Linked DNA regions of Homo sapiens: region 1 is linked to region 2. Evidence: promoter capture Hi-C in 16 types of primary human blood cells and fetal thymus (Javierre and others, 2016). All regions are on one chromosome and are shown on one strand. Each heading gives the region's core, a stretch centred on a gene start or on the middle of the fragment in contact. The rest is flanking DNA. Distances are from core to core; before and after follow the strand shown.

Region 1 (6,028 bases), core at 1,577-4,076, 870 kb after region 2:
TTTAACACTGGCTACCTTAACCTCCAGTTAGCCAATTCCATATTTTAGTGTCTTGTTTTTAGCATCCTGCTTCTGGTACCAAATTATTTGCCTGTTAGGAATGGGTTCAGCTACAAGTTACAGAACACCCACCTATAAAATGGCTTAATCAAAGGTGGCTTCTCACTTATGGACTACAGTAGGGCAAGAATGGAAGCAGGACGGTCAGTTAGGAAGCTCTCTCTCAAGTAGTCCAGCAGCATCATCTACTACTGGACTAGATGGTTTAGTGGAGGTGGAAAGAAGTCAAAGACTCAGGATACATTTTGATAGCATCAACAGGCTTTGCTGAAGGATTTAAAGGTAAAGGGATGAGATAAATCAAAAACAGCTCGTAGAATTTTAGCTTGAACAACAGAATGAGTACCAGTGACATTTACTAAAATGCACAAGACTGAGAGAGGTGCAGGTTTGGGGGTGAAAATCAAGATTTTGGGGGGACACATTAAGTTTGAGATGCCAGTCTGACATTCATATGGAGACATCAAGTAGGCAGTTATTTACAGGAGCCAGGAATTACACAGAGAGGTCATTGTCAGAGAGACATATTTTGGAGTCATCTATTTATAAATGGTATCTAAAGCACAGGACTAGGTAAACTCACATAGGGAGGGTGGATAGAGAAGGTGACTCAGAACAGAACCCTGGACACTTTGATAATTATAGATTGAGAAGCCAATTAAGAAGCCCAAGAAAGGATAATGAGTGAGGTAGCAGAAGGACCCAGAGTGTGTGGTGTCAGAAAACAAGAGAAGAAAGTGTTTCTAAGTGAGAGTGGTTGGCTTTGATAAAACAGTGTTGAGAGGGCAAGTAAAATAAAAACAAGAGATCAAAGAGACCACTAGATTTGCATGGAGATTGCAGTTTCAGTGGTATGGTGGGGGAGAAAATACAGCAAGTTTATATGTTGATGGGAATTATCTGGTAGAGAGGGAGTGACTGTAGATTCAAGAGAGACATAACACAGGATAACATCCATAGGAAAAAAATGAAAGCACTGGCTAGAATGAGGACACTTTATCCATCTACCAGACACCAGCTTCTTGACACTTCATTTGTCTTATTTGTATCTCTAGTAGCTCCTAGTAGAGCGCCTAGTACATAGAAGATATTCAAGAAATGTTATTGAATGAATAAATGAACAAAGGGAGGGGTGGATGAATGGATGAAGAGATGGATGAATGGCAGATGCAGGGTAGAAGGAGGAACTAGATCAAACTAATCCAAAGTTCAGAGTAAGGAAAGAAGAATGGGTCTTGAATTAATAGGGTTTCCTCAAAACTTAGGGATTCTTTGTCCCGGCGCGGTGGCTCACCCCTGTAATCCCAGCACTTTGGGAGGCGGAGGTGGTGGGAGGATTGCTTGAACCCAGGAGTTCGAGACGAGCTGGGCACCATGGAGACTCTTTTCTTTAAAAAAAGAAAAAAAAATTAGGGATTATGGGATTTTTCTCTGGGATGGGGTGGCAGATTTCAATCTCAGATGAAGGTGGGAAAAGGAATGAGACCGTCAATGGCAGTGGCGTTAGGCAACTTTCAAGGCATCTAACTACTTAGCCACTTTCTTTGTCTTTCCTGTCCGGACCCAGGCTCATTTGAAAAACGATTATGTACCTTTATGGACAGAAATGGGAGAAGGGCTTTAAAAAAAACGACCGTCCTGCCGGGAGTGGTGGCTCACGCCTGTAATCCCAGCACTTTGGGAGGCTGAGGCGGGAGGATCAAGAGGTCAGCAGTTAGAGACCAGCCTGGCCAACACGGTGAAACCCCGTCTCTACTAAAAATACAAAAATTAGCCGGGCAAGGTGGCACGCGCCTGTAATCCCAGCTACTCGGGAGGCTGAGGTAGGAGAAGAGCTTGAACCTGGGAGGCGGAGGTTGCAGTGAGCCGAGATCCCACCACTGCACTCCAGCCTGGGACAGAGCGAGACTCCGTCTCAAAACAAAACAAAACAAAACAAAAAAACAAAACGACCGTCCTACACTCATTTATCCATCAGGTCAATGGATACTTACTGAATGTTAATCTTGTATAGGAGCACAGGTGTAAGGGCAGGATTATACAGGGATGAATTCGATACAGGGATGATGTATTCGTTTCCCTATTTGTTCATGAGTCTGTTTTTAAGTAATCTGTCCTCTCTTGAATGTCAAAAGCTGCTGATTTCACGAACGGTACATGGAAGATGGTATTTGAACTGGGTCGCATAGTCTTGCTGGGACTCCCGTGGAAGCGAACGGGGACAGCGGCTGCCGCAGCTTGTGCAGTGGAGCTGGCAGACGCTGGAAGCAGGCCAATCTTGAAACGTAGGGTCCAAGGCCGGCTCCAGCGTGTTGTGGTCGTTTCATCAAGAAGGAATTAGCATTCCTATTATCTTTCTTCCCAACTTGCAGCAGGACGAACCAAGAGACCTGAACCAAGAGCCCTGTATAGGAGGGGGTGAGCGGAGTTGGGAGCCAGCTTTGGGGTCCGCCCCATCCGGATCCGCCATCCTACGTCGCCCGTGGAACTACGTTCCTGAGGGCTTCCGGCGTTGCCTAGCAACTGCCGGGCCCCTAGGGCGTCCAGCGGCCCAACTGGAGTGGAGCCGAGTGTCGCCCTTGGGAAAGCAGGTAGAAGAACTGCGTCAGTCCCGCCAGTGCTGGGCCCGGGCCGATTACACGTGGACTCACGCGAGCCGTCCTCACAGCCCGCCGCCGCCAGCGGGAGGGGCCCGGCGGCGCCAATGGGCGGGCGGCAGGGAGCGCGCGTGCGCAGGGCAGGTCGGGGGGGGGGGGGGGGCGGGGCGAAGCCGAGGAAGAGCGTTTTGGGGACGGGGGCTGGTGAGGCTCACGTTGGAGGGCTTCGCGTCTGCTTCGGAGACCGTAAGGGTGAGTGAACTAGCGCACTCTCCGCAGCGGGCGGGATCCCGGCGCCTCTCCTGTGGGCTGGAGGCTTGGGCTCAAGATGAGAGGCAGGAGTAGTCTGGGGGCGCGGGCTGGGCCCCCAGGCCGTCTCGGGACGCTTAACCGGCTAGGAGCACGGCCTGTCTCCCGGGGCGGAAGCCTGTGCCCCACCGGGGGCTCTGGAGCCAGACGGGGCCGACTGGGCAGATCTCCGCCCCCTTCCCTGGTCCCTAGGGGCCCGAGGATCGGCCTGTGGGACCAGCTGTGTCGGGTGGACACTGCTCCTGGCCCGGCCCAAAAGCAGCGGGCCGGAAGCCTTACTCTCCCTCTGCTCCTTGTTCCCTCTCTCGGGGAGACCACAGGTCCTGTCGGGCCCGGCGGGGGAAGCTGATCTCCTGTTGTATTCCCTCTCTGGGCATGGCCATCCACCCGGGTGCCCAAGCCAGAATTGGGCATCATTCTCACTTGCTTCACTCCTTTACCCACCCACATCGAATCCCTTGCAAAGTTGTCTTGGATACGTTCATTCTCCAGTCCCATCCCCCTGCCCTACCTAGTTCAGGCCACCTTTTCTTCTCTGGACTACCTCGGTGTCTTCCTGATGATCCCTGCATCTCTTCTTCATCCTCTGTAGTTTGTTCTATACAGAGAGGCTACAGCCATGGTCTTAAAACAGAAATCTGATCATGTGACCAGAAGCGTCCCCCCATTCCCTTATCACCCTTTGGTGGATTCTCATTGCTCTTCCAAGCTCTTGAACGGGGCTTGCAAAGCCCTTCATGACCTGTCTTCCTTTAACTTTAGATTCATTTGTCTCGACTGTACTGTGTCTTCAACCATACTGAATCTTTTTTGGTTCTTAGATCAGAACAAGTTCCTTCTGGGCTTACATGTTCCTTCAGTATGTTCGCTATGTCTGAGGCACTGTCCTTTGGTTGAAATAATCCTTCTTATCCTTTATGTGTTATTTCAGGTGTCAGTTGGGGATTTCGTGGTACCCCATGGGTGTCTGCCTGCCGGTCTCTCTTTTCTACCAGGTTGTAATCTGTGTGAGAGGAGTTTGTCGAGGTCATAGTACTATCTTCAGTACCTTGTGCTGTTAGTACGGTCATTAAATGTATAAATGCAGCATGGGTGCTCCTTGGGCTCCCTAGATGAACAAATAGATCAAGTTATTAATATTAAATGCCTGCTTTTTCAGAACCAATTCTCAACCCTCAGTCCGTGTAGAGGTTTCTTTAGCTTAGGAAGTTGGTTATTTTCTTGCCTTCATTCCAGGACCATGACAGGGGTAAGTGACAAAGTACTGGTCAGTTTTTCTTTGGCATTGGCTGTGGGTACAGGATGTCTGGATGTTGGTGAGTTTGGCTGCTTTGGGTTTGAATTCTTAACCAAGGGCCCCTTGAGGGAGAAGCTGCTACTAGCTGCTGGCAGGAAGGCTGGCCCCAAACTTAGTGCTGATAGGACTGATGACACACCAGGAAGAAAGGGTTGGGCCAGGTCAAACCACTGGAAGCCTCCAAAGGAAGTTCCAGCTTAGGCTAGATCCGCTGTGGGATAGGGAACAATACACCTAGGTGCCAAGACTCACTTCCCTGATTCAGCGATGAGCCAGGTCAGCTCAGCAGAGATCAGTAAGGTAAATGAGAGCCAGAGGAGAGAGGGTCCTGACTCTCAGAGAGGGAGGAAAAGAGAAAAATGGAAAAGGAGAACAACCTGTGATCGTATGTTCAGGTCAAATGAGTGTGAGAGGCTACAGACTGAGGTCGGATGAGAGAGCAATTGGTCTTGGCTGGAAGAATCCTGAGGTGACATTTGAACCTGTCCTGGAAGGAAGTTGGAGATGGACAGATGGAACCAGTAGGAGCGGAGGCTGTGGTACAGGAAGAGGCTGGCAGAGCAGGAGGGGAGCACTGTGACAGCCAAGGCACTGGGAGGCGCACTGCTCCTGATGGTCCAGCACTGCCCTCCCAGGACTGAGGCTGCGCCTTGTGAGGGCTGTCTCAAGGTATGGGTTGTGCCCTGAAGTCCCTTTGCAGAAATTTCTCCTCCGTTGGGTTTTTCTTCAGCCTGGCCTTTATAATTTCCTAAAGAAGGCCAGTGAGCTGGGGCTTATCTTCAGGCTGTTAGCCCATGGCCTTGAGCTAAGTAGTTAGAGCATGGATGATGCAACCTGTTATTTGGGTAGAGGGAGTTGCTTATGCTTTCTCTTGACTGTCAGCAGTTTAATTTGTTAGGTGGCAGTTAGATTCCCTGTTTTCTATCTTTCCCTCCCTCGCCTGCCTTCTTTCCTTTCTTCCTCTCTCTCTCTCTCTTTTTCTAATTAGAGAGGGAGTCTCACCATGTTGTCCAGGCTGGTCTTGAACTCCTGGGCTCAAGTGATTCACTTGCCTCAGCCTCTCAAAGTATTGAGATTACAGGCATAAGCCACCATGCCCAGCCCGATTCCCTGTTTTCAGTGTACCACTTGGAGGAATTTTTTTTCTTTATGTTTATCGATTTGGCTTTTGTTGCATTCCAATGATTAGAAACCTGCAACAGCAAACCAAAATGAGACAAGTTCAAAATCAGTGATTCTTGGCCTTTATCCCACCTCCCTTAAAGAAGGGATATTTTGGACTCATAGTTACTACATGATTAATCACTTGGTTGCTTTTTGGTGTTATCTAAATAGAATTTCCCCCACCCCCAACACACACACACCAAATTGATATACTAAGCATCCAATCACATAGTTGGAGGAAATGGTGCCATGAGTTCCATGATAGATATCTCCAAAAGAAAAGTTTCATCTTCAGTTACAGTGACATTAAAAATTGGCAGCATATCTGCAAAGGTGGTAATCCCCCCAGCTCCCCAAGGACCATGGCACACAGGCTAAGAACCAGCAGCTTCTGTTCCAGGCACTGTGCCTGATACTGGGAATGTGGATTCAGTCCAAGTCCTCTTAAAGCCCATCCAGCAAGGGGCACTGACAAGTAATCAGGCAGTTTTTCAAGAATTCATTCACACACAAGAAAACAAAAGAAAAAAAAGAATTAATTTGCAGCTGTCATCAGCTGTGGACGGGAGCCTTCTGAAGGGAAGCACTTGGGAGCCTGCAG
Region 2 (6,319 bases), core at 2,348-4,847:
CAAAGAACTAGGAAAAAAAAAAGAAACAGCAAAAGACAAACACTTCAGCACAAGAAGAAATCTAAATGACAAACATTAAAAGATGCTCGGACAGACACGGTGGCTCACGGCCAGGTGCGGTGGTTCACGCCTGTAATCCCAACACTTTGGGAGGCTGAGGTGGGTGGATCACCTGAGGTCAGGAGTTCACGACTGGCCTGACCAACATGGTGAAACCCGTCTCTACTATAAACACAAAAATTAGCTGGGCGTGGTGGCAGGCACCTGTAATACCAGGTACTTGAGAGGATGAGGCAGGAGAATCGCTGGAACCCAGGAGGCGGAGGTTGCAGTGAGCTGAGACCACACCACTGCACTCCAGCTTGGGCAACAAGAGTGAAATTCCGTCTCAAAAAAAAAAAAAATACGCTCAACATGTTTTAAGGCTTAAATGATTCATGGAGTAAGTCCGAATGTCTCTGTAGCTCATCAGACTGTTCATGATTGGATCTCTGCTTAACTTCTCCAATGCTCCCTCCTCCTCCTTTCATCCTACCCACAATTTGCAGACCTTCCTCTTCCTGAACCAGCTTCCCACTCTCACTATAATCTGTCTAAGCTTATTTGTCCTTCTGGTTTCGGTTTACAGAGCTGAGAGCCTAGCCTGACCCGCATCCTCTCCGTCCCCTTTCCACTTGGAGTCTACAATTGCCTCTTTGCTTTGTCCTGTTCATGGTTGTATCCAGGATCCATAATGCCTAATGCTGTGCTCGGCAGAGTGATCTAGACACTGCAGTTTCTTTAGAAACCTAGTATCAAATGCCCATCTTTCTTGAATACCCTGGAATCCTCTCCATAACGGGAGGTGAAATGTATACGTTTTATTTTTACAAGTCTCTTAAACTCAACCTCAAGAAACAAATAACATACGCTATTCAATATGAATGTAAAGTACATCCTTACAATAAATACACCCGTTTGGTTTGGATTCAACAATCAATTCATGCTCAAGTAAACAATACGTCATGCTTTTCTAACCAGGAGTTTGTTATTGCGGATGCTGGCTCTGTTCCCCACAAGCATATTCTACTAATGCACAACTATATATATTTAAACTGCGGGAAAGGGTCGCTTAAACAAGGGTAACACTATAATTACACTTAGAAAAATCTCAGAATTCCTTTAGGACACTTTAAACTGGATTTAAATGGATTTGAAATCCATTACTCAAAACCACTAACTAGCGGCCGGGCACGGTGGCTCACACCTGTAATCCCAGCACTTTGGGAGGCTGAAGTGGGTGGACCACTTGAGGTCAGCAGTTTCAAGACCAGCCTGGCCAACATGGTGAAACTCCATGGTGAAAAATCAGCCGGACCGCGGTGGGCACACCCGTAATCCCAGCTACTCGGGAAGCTGAGGCAGGAGAATCACTTGAACCCGGCGGGCAGAGGTTGCAGTGAGCCGAGAAAGCGCCACAGCACTCCAGCCTGGGCGACAGAGCGAGACTCCATTTCAAAACAAAACCAAACAAAAAACACGAACTGGCTCTTATCTTGAATGAGTTATTTTTTCTGAGCCTTTATTTCTTCGTTTGTTCAAATAGCGACCATTAAACTTTGTGTTTAGTATCTGACAAACGGCCGGGCTCGGTGGTTCATGCCTGTAATCCCAGCACTTTGGTAGGCCAATGCGGGCCGATCAAGAGGTCAGGAGTTCGATACCAGCCTGGCCAACATAGTGAAACCCGTCTCTACTAAAAATACAAAAATTAGCCAGGCGTGGTGGGGCGCACCTGTAGTCCCAGCTACTTGGGAGGCTGAGGCAGGATAATCTCTTGATCCAGAGACAGAGGTTGTGGTGAGCCAAGAACGCGCCACTGCACTCTAGCCTGGACAAAAGAGCAAGACTCTGTCTCAAAATACATATATATGTATCTGGCAAACAGCAAAAGCAAGCTTTTCAAAATGTCGCCAGCTGCCCGGATAAAAAGCCCTAAACAGACCGGGCGCGGTGGCTAGCGCCTGTAATCCCAGCACTTTGAGGCCGAGGCGGGTGGATCACCTGAGGTCGGGAATTCCGAGACTAGCCTGACCAACATGGAGAAACCCCGTCTCTACTAAAAATACAAAATTGGCGGGGTGTGGGGGCGCATTCCTGTAATCCCGACTACTCGGGAGGCTGAAGCTGGGGAATCGCTTGAAGCCGGGACGCGGAGATTGCGGTGAGCTGAGATCGCGCCATTGCACTCCAGCCTGGACTTGAGCGAAACTCTCTCTCAAAAAGGAAAAAAAAAAAAAAGCACTTAACTGCCCATAAAGTGAGGACAACTCCCGACAGGCTTCCCCGGAGTCACTCACGTCCACACATCTTTGTCCAGCGCCCGATTAAGGCCTCTAAAAGCCCAGTGGTGCCCCATAAAAATTACACTATTTCATAAAATAAAATATTTTCCACTCGACACGAATTTCCACATACGTCAAAATATTCTATCTTCGTCTCGGTGCACGTGCAGCCTACCTACCGAAGGACCCAGCCGGATCCCAGCACTTCGGCTCCCCACGGCCCCGCCCCGCCCAATTAGGCCCCGCGGTCCCCATGGTGACACACCCCCCCGCGCTCGCAGCTCGTGGCCCACCCCCTCGGCGGCCCCTCACCTAGGCCGAAGGCCCACCGTCCCCAAGGCGTCTCGGCGACCGCGGCTCTTAACTACCTCTAAGTGTCTACCTCGATCGACTACTGGAGCCCCAACTCACTATCTCCGCGCCGGCCGAGGAACCTCCTTTCGCACCCCACACCACCGGACTCTCCCCGTTCGGCCTCCCGCAGGCATTCCTCCTTCCCGCCACCCCGCCCCCCGCCCCGCCCACCAAGTGGGCCGGGCGCCTTCCCCTTCTCGCCCCACCCCCAGTGCTCCCACCTCCCAGGCCCCCTCCCCACCCGGAGCTGCGCGCGTCGCCCCTTCCTTAGCCCAGCACCCCCACCTGGCGGGACGCGTCTCCTCCCTCCAAAAGGCCCGAACTCTCCGCGTCTCCCCTGCAGCCCTCTTCCTGCACAGCCTCTCTCCTCCGACCCTGTTTACAAGCTACACCCCCAAATGCTCCAGACTCGACCCCTGCACTCATTCAAGCCAACTCTGCGGCCCCGCCTCCTCCGAGCCCAGGGCCAGGCCGTGCACCCCCCCAACCCCCTGTGCGAGCCTCCCCTCGCCGGGTTCCAAGCGCCCCGCCGCTATGCCCCCGCCTTCGACCCCACCCCCACCCCGCTACCTGGTGGGGGCAGCAGGCGCTACCGATCTCCGCAGCCCTCCGTTGAGGTTCTTCGCCTTGGGCGGTGACGCGGAGCGCGCCAAGGGCCTGGGCCCAGGCCCAGCCTCGCTCCAGGCCGCATCCCCGCCTGGGGAAGGAGAGGCCCCGGGGGCAGCGGCGGCACGGCCGCCTTCGCGTGAGGCCCTGGCCGAGGCCTTGTTGGCATCACTCAGCGCCGGAGACTTGGGGAAGAAGCTGTACAGGGTGCTCTGTCGCGACATACCGACAGCCGGCAAGGCCCAACCGTTCTGTCGGACGGAGCTCCTAAAAGCACCGCATCTACCGCGCGGCTCCTGCTGGCGGGAAATCTGGGGGGAGGCGCGCTCCGCCGGAGGAACCCGGGCCCCAGTGGCCAATCAACAGGCGCCTCGCCGTGCGCGGGCGGTGCGCGCCAGGCCCCGCCCCCGGGCGCGCGGCGACGTGGGGAAGGGCGGGGCTGGCACACTGGTGGGTAGGGGCGGGGCTGGCACGCTGGCGGTGAGGGGCCCGCCCTGCCGCCGACGCCTGGGCCCCGCGCGGGGAACTGCTGAGCTCCCCTTCCCTCACGCCGCGGGGCTGGCCGGGCCGGAACACTCCGACCCGGGGTTAGTTGCGGCCGCGGGGCTAGCAGGCTCGGAAAGCCCTGCCTCTCTGGAGCGGAAGCGGGAACAGCGGGGGCGCGCACCGCCCGGGCGGGGATAACCGGGGGGACCCGAAAGGCCTCGGAAAGGGGCTCGCGGGGAGAAACGCGTCCAGCGCTCGCGTGACCTCCTGCCGTTAGAGCATTTTCGCAAGGAGACGGAGCGAAAGGGACCAAACTTTAGTCAGCAGTTCACCTTCACGTTGTATTCTCAAGATTTGTATAGAGTAGGCACTTGGTAAACGCTAAATGAATATTGTAATAGCATTCGTTAGCGATGCTGTTGTGTATGGTGAAAGCCTGCAGCTGTACAAAGTTTTCCTTTGCCAGGCACTGATCCCAGCATTTTACATCTGGTAACTAAATCGATCCTCTCAATAACCTGTGACGTAAGTACTTAAGGGCCACAGTCCGTTATCTGAGCCCTTTGACCCAGGTGTGTCTTTACAGGATTTTTCAAATTTTAGAAAGCTAAGAGACTATGAGAGGCCGGGCGCAGTGGCTCACGCCTGTAATCCCAGCACTTTGGGATGCCGAGGCGGGCGGATCACCTGAGGTCAGGCGTTGAAGACCAGCCTAGTCAACATGGTGAAACCCCCGTCTCTACTAAAAATCCAAAAATTAGCCGGGCGTGGTGGCATGCGCCTGTAATCCCAGCTACTTGGGAGGCTGAGGCAGGAGAATAACTTGAACCTGGGAGGCAGCGTTTGCAGTGAGCCAAGGTCGCGCCACTGCACTCCAGCCTGGGCGACAAGAGCGAAACTCCGTCTCAAAAAAAAAAGAAAGAAAGCTAAGAGGCTATGAGAATAAAAAGGTTCTATTCAAATTCAAGAAAGATAGTGGAAGACAGACAATTGTTTGTCCCCTTATCCAGATTGTGAAATCCAGATTGCCGGAAACCAGTCACAATCAACAGCTGTACATTGGTAAAAACCTATGTAAAATTAGTTGTTTGCCTTGTTCTTGGAGACTGTTCTGCCAGAAGGTTCTCCTTTGCTAGGCAAGTAATAAAATCAATCTAAAAAAAAAAGGCGGGGGCCGGGCGCAGTGGCTCACGCCTGTAGTCCCAGCACTCGGCACTTCGGGGGGGGGGCGGAGGTGGGCGGATCACGAGGTCAGGAGATCGAGACCATCCTGGCTAACACAGTGAAACCCCGCCTCTACTAAAAATACAAAAAATTAGCCTGGCGTGGTAGCACACGCCTGTAGTCCCAGCTACTGGGGAGGCTGAGGTAGGAGAATGGTGTGAACCCGGGAGGCGGAGCTTGCAGTGAGCCGAGATCGCGCCTCTGCACTCCAGCCTGGGCGACAGAGCAAGACTCCCTCTCAAAAAAAAAAAAAGAATATTGCCAAAGGTGGTATGTGCTAAGAAAAATACAGTATGCTTCACGAATTTGCATTTCATCCCTGTGCAGGGGTCATTCCAATTTTGGTATATGTGCTACCCAAGCAAGCACAGTGAAACCAACTGTTTGAGATAATATTTGAGAGTTGGTCTCTTTCCCCCACCGGCATACGTAAACACCCCCAGAGAGTCTGGGGGAACATGCTGAAATCAAACATGCAGTAAAACTTACATGCTTATTCATACTAAGTAGAAAGAATACAGAATATAGACTATAAATAGCCTCAGGTCAAAATTTGCTACCAAATGAGTTTACCCCCAAACTTTTGGTTTACAGAGCTTTTTGGATTTCAGAATTGCACGTAAGAGGCTGGTTATCCTGTATCTCCATATCATGGATGAAGCTGAGGCACAGTTGGGTCAAGTAACTTGCCCATGACTGCATAGCTAGGAAGTGGTGGAGCCTGGATTTAAACTCAAGGAAGCTGGTTCTGGAGCCCTATGTTGTTAACAGAAATACTATAATACTTCCAATTTAACACCATTTTATCTCATTTAGTTATTACAACCACCTTATACTAGGTTGAACTATGTGAAATTGCCAAAATTTGCCCTTTTTAAAATTTTTTTGAGACAGGGTCTGGCTCTGTCACAGAGGCTGGAGTATAGTGGCGTGATCTTGGCTTACTGTAGCCTCAACCTCCCAGGCTTAAGTAATCCTCTCACCTCAGCCTCCTGAGTACCTGGGACCACAGGCCCGCAACACCATGCCCAGCTAATTTTTTTTTTTTTTAATTGAGGAGTCTTATTCTGTCACCCAGGCTGGAGTACAGTGACGCCATCTTGGTTCACTGCAACCCCTGCTTTGCGGGTTCAGGCAATTCTCATGCCTCAGCCTCCTGAGTGCTAGGATTACTGGTGCCTACCACCATGCCCAGCTAATTTTTGTTTTTTAGTAGAGACACGGTTTCACCATGTTGGCCTGCCTGATCCCAAACTCCTGACCACAAGTGACCCGCCTGCCTCAGCCTCCCAAAGTGCTGGGATTACAGGTATGAGCCACTGTGC

The links. Contacts are between HindIII fragments. The CHiCAGO score rates a contact against its expected background, and 5 or more counts as called.
Region 1: the fragment with the promoter of MCFD2 here is called in contact with the fragment with the promoter of MSH6 in region 2 in 8 of 17 cell types (neutrophils, naive CD4 T cells, total CD8 T cells and 5 more); the score reaches 12.5 in neutrophils.

What each region holds. Positions count from the first base shown.
Region 1 is chr2:46,912,604-46,918,631 of GRCh38, reverse strand. It overlaps MCFD2 (multiple coagulation factor deficiency 2, ER cargo receptor complex subunit), which reads left to right and starts at 2,826. Exons shown (of 4, transcript NM_139279.6): 1 at 2,826-2,909. It also overlaps a transcript of TTC7A not described here. RefSeq lists an enhancer at 1,782-2,756 and a silencer at 2,760-2,839. The HindIII fragment of the contact is 10,556 bases long and covers 1-6,028 here.
Region 2 is chr2:47,780,423-47,786,741 of GRCh38, reverse strand. MSH6 (mutS homolog 6) reads right to left here and starts at 3,597. Exons shown (of 10, transcript NM_000179.3): 1 at 3,249-3,597. The coding sequence starts at 3,508. RefSeq lists silencers at 2,815-2,904, 3,105-3,264, 3,545-4,024, 5,175-5,356 and an enhancer at 4,155-4,224. The HindIII fragment of the contact is 5,497 bases long and covers 1,940-6,319 here.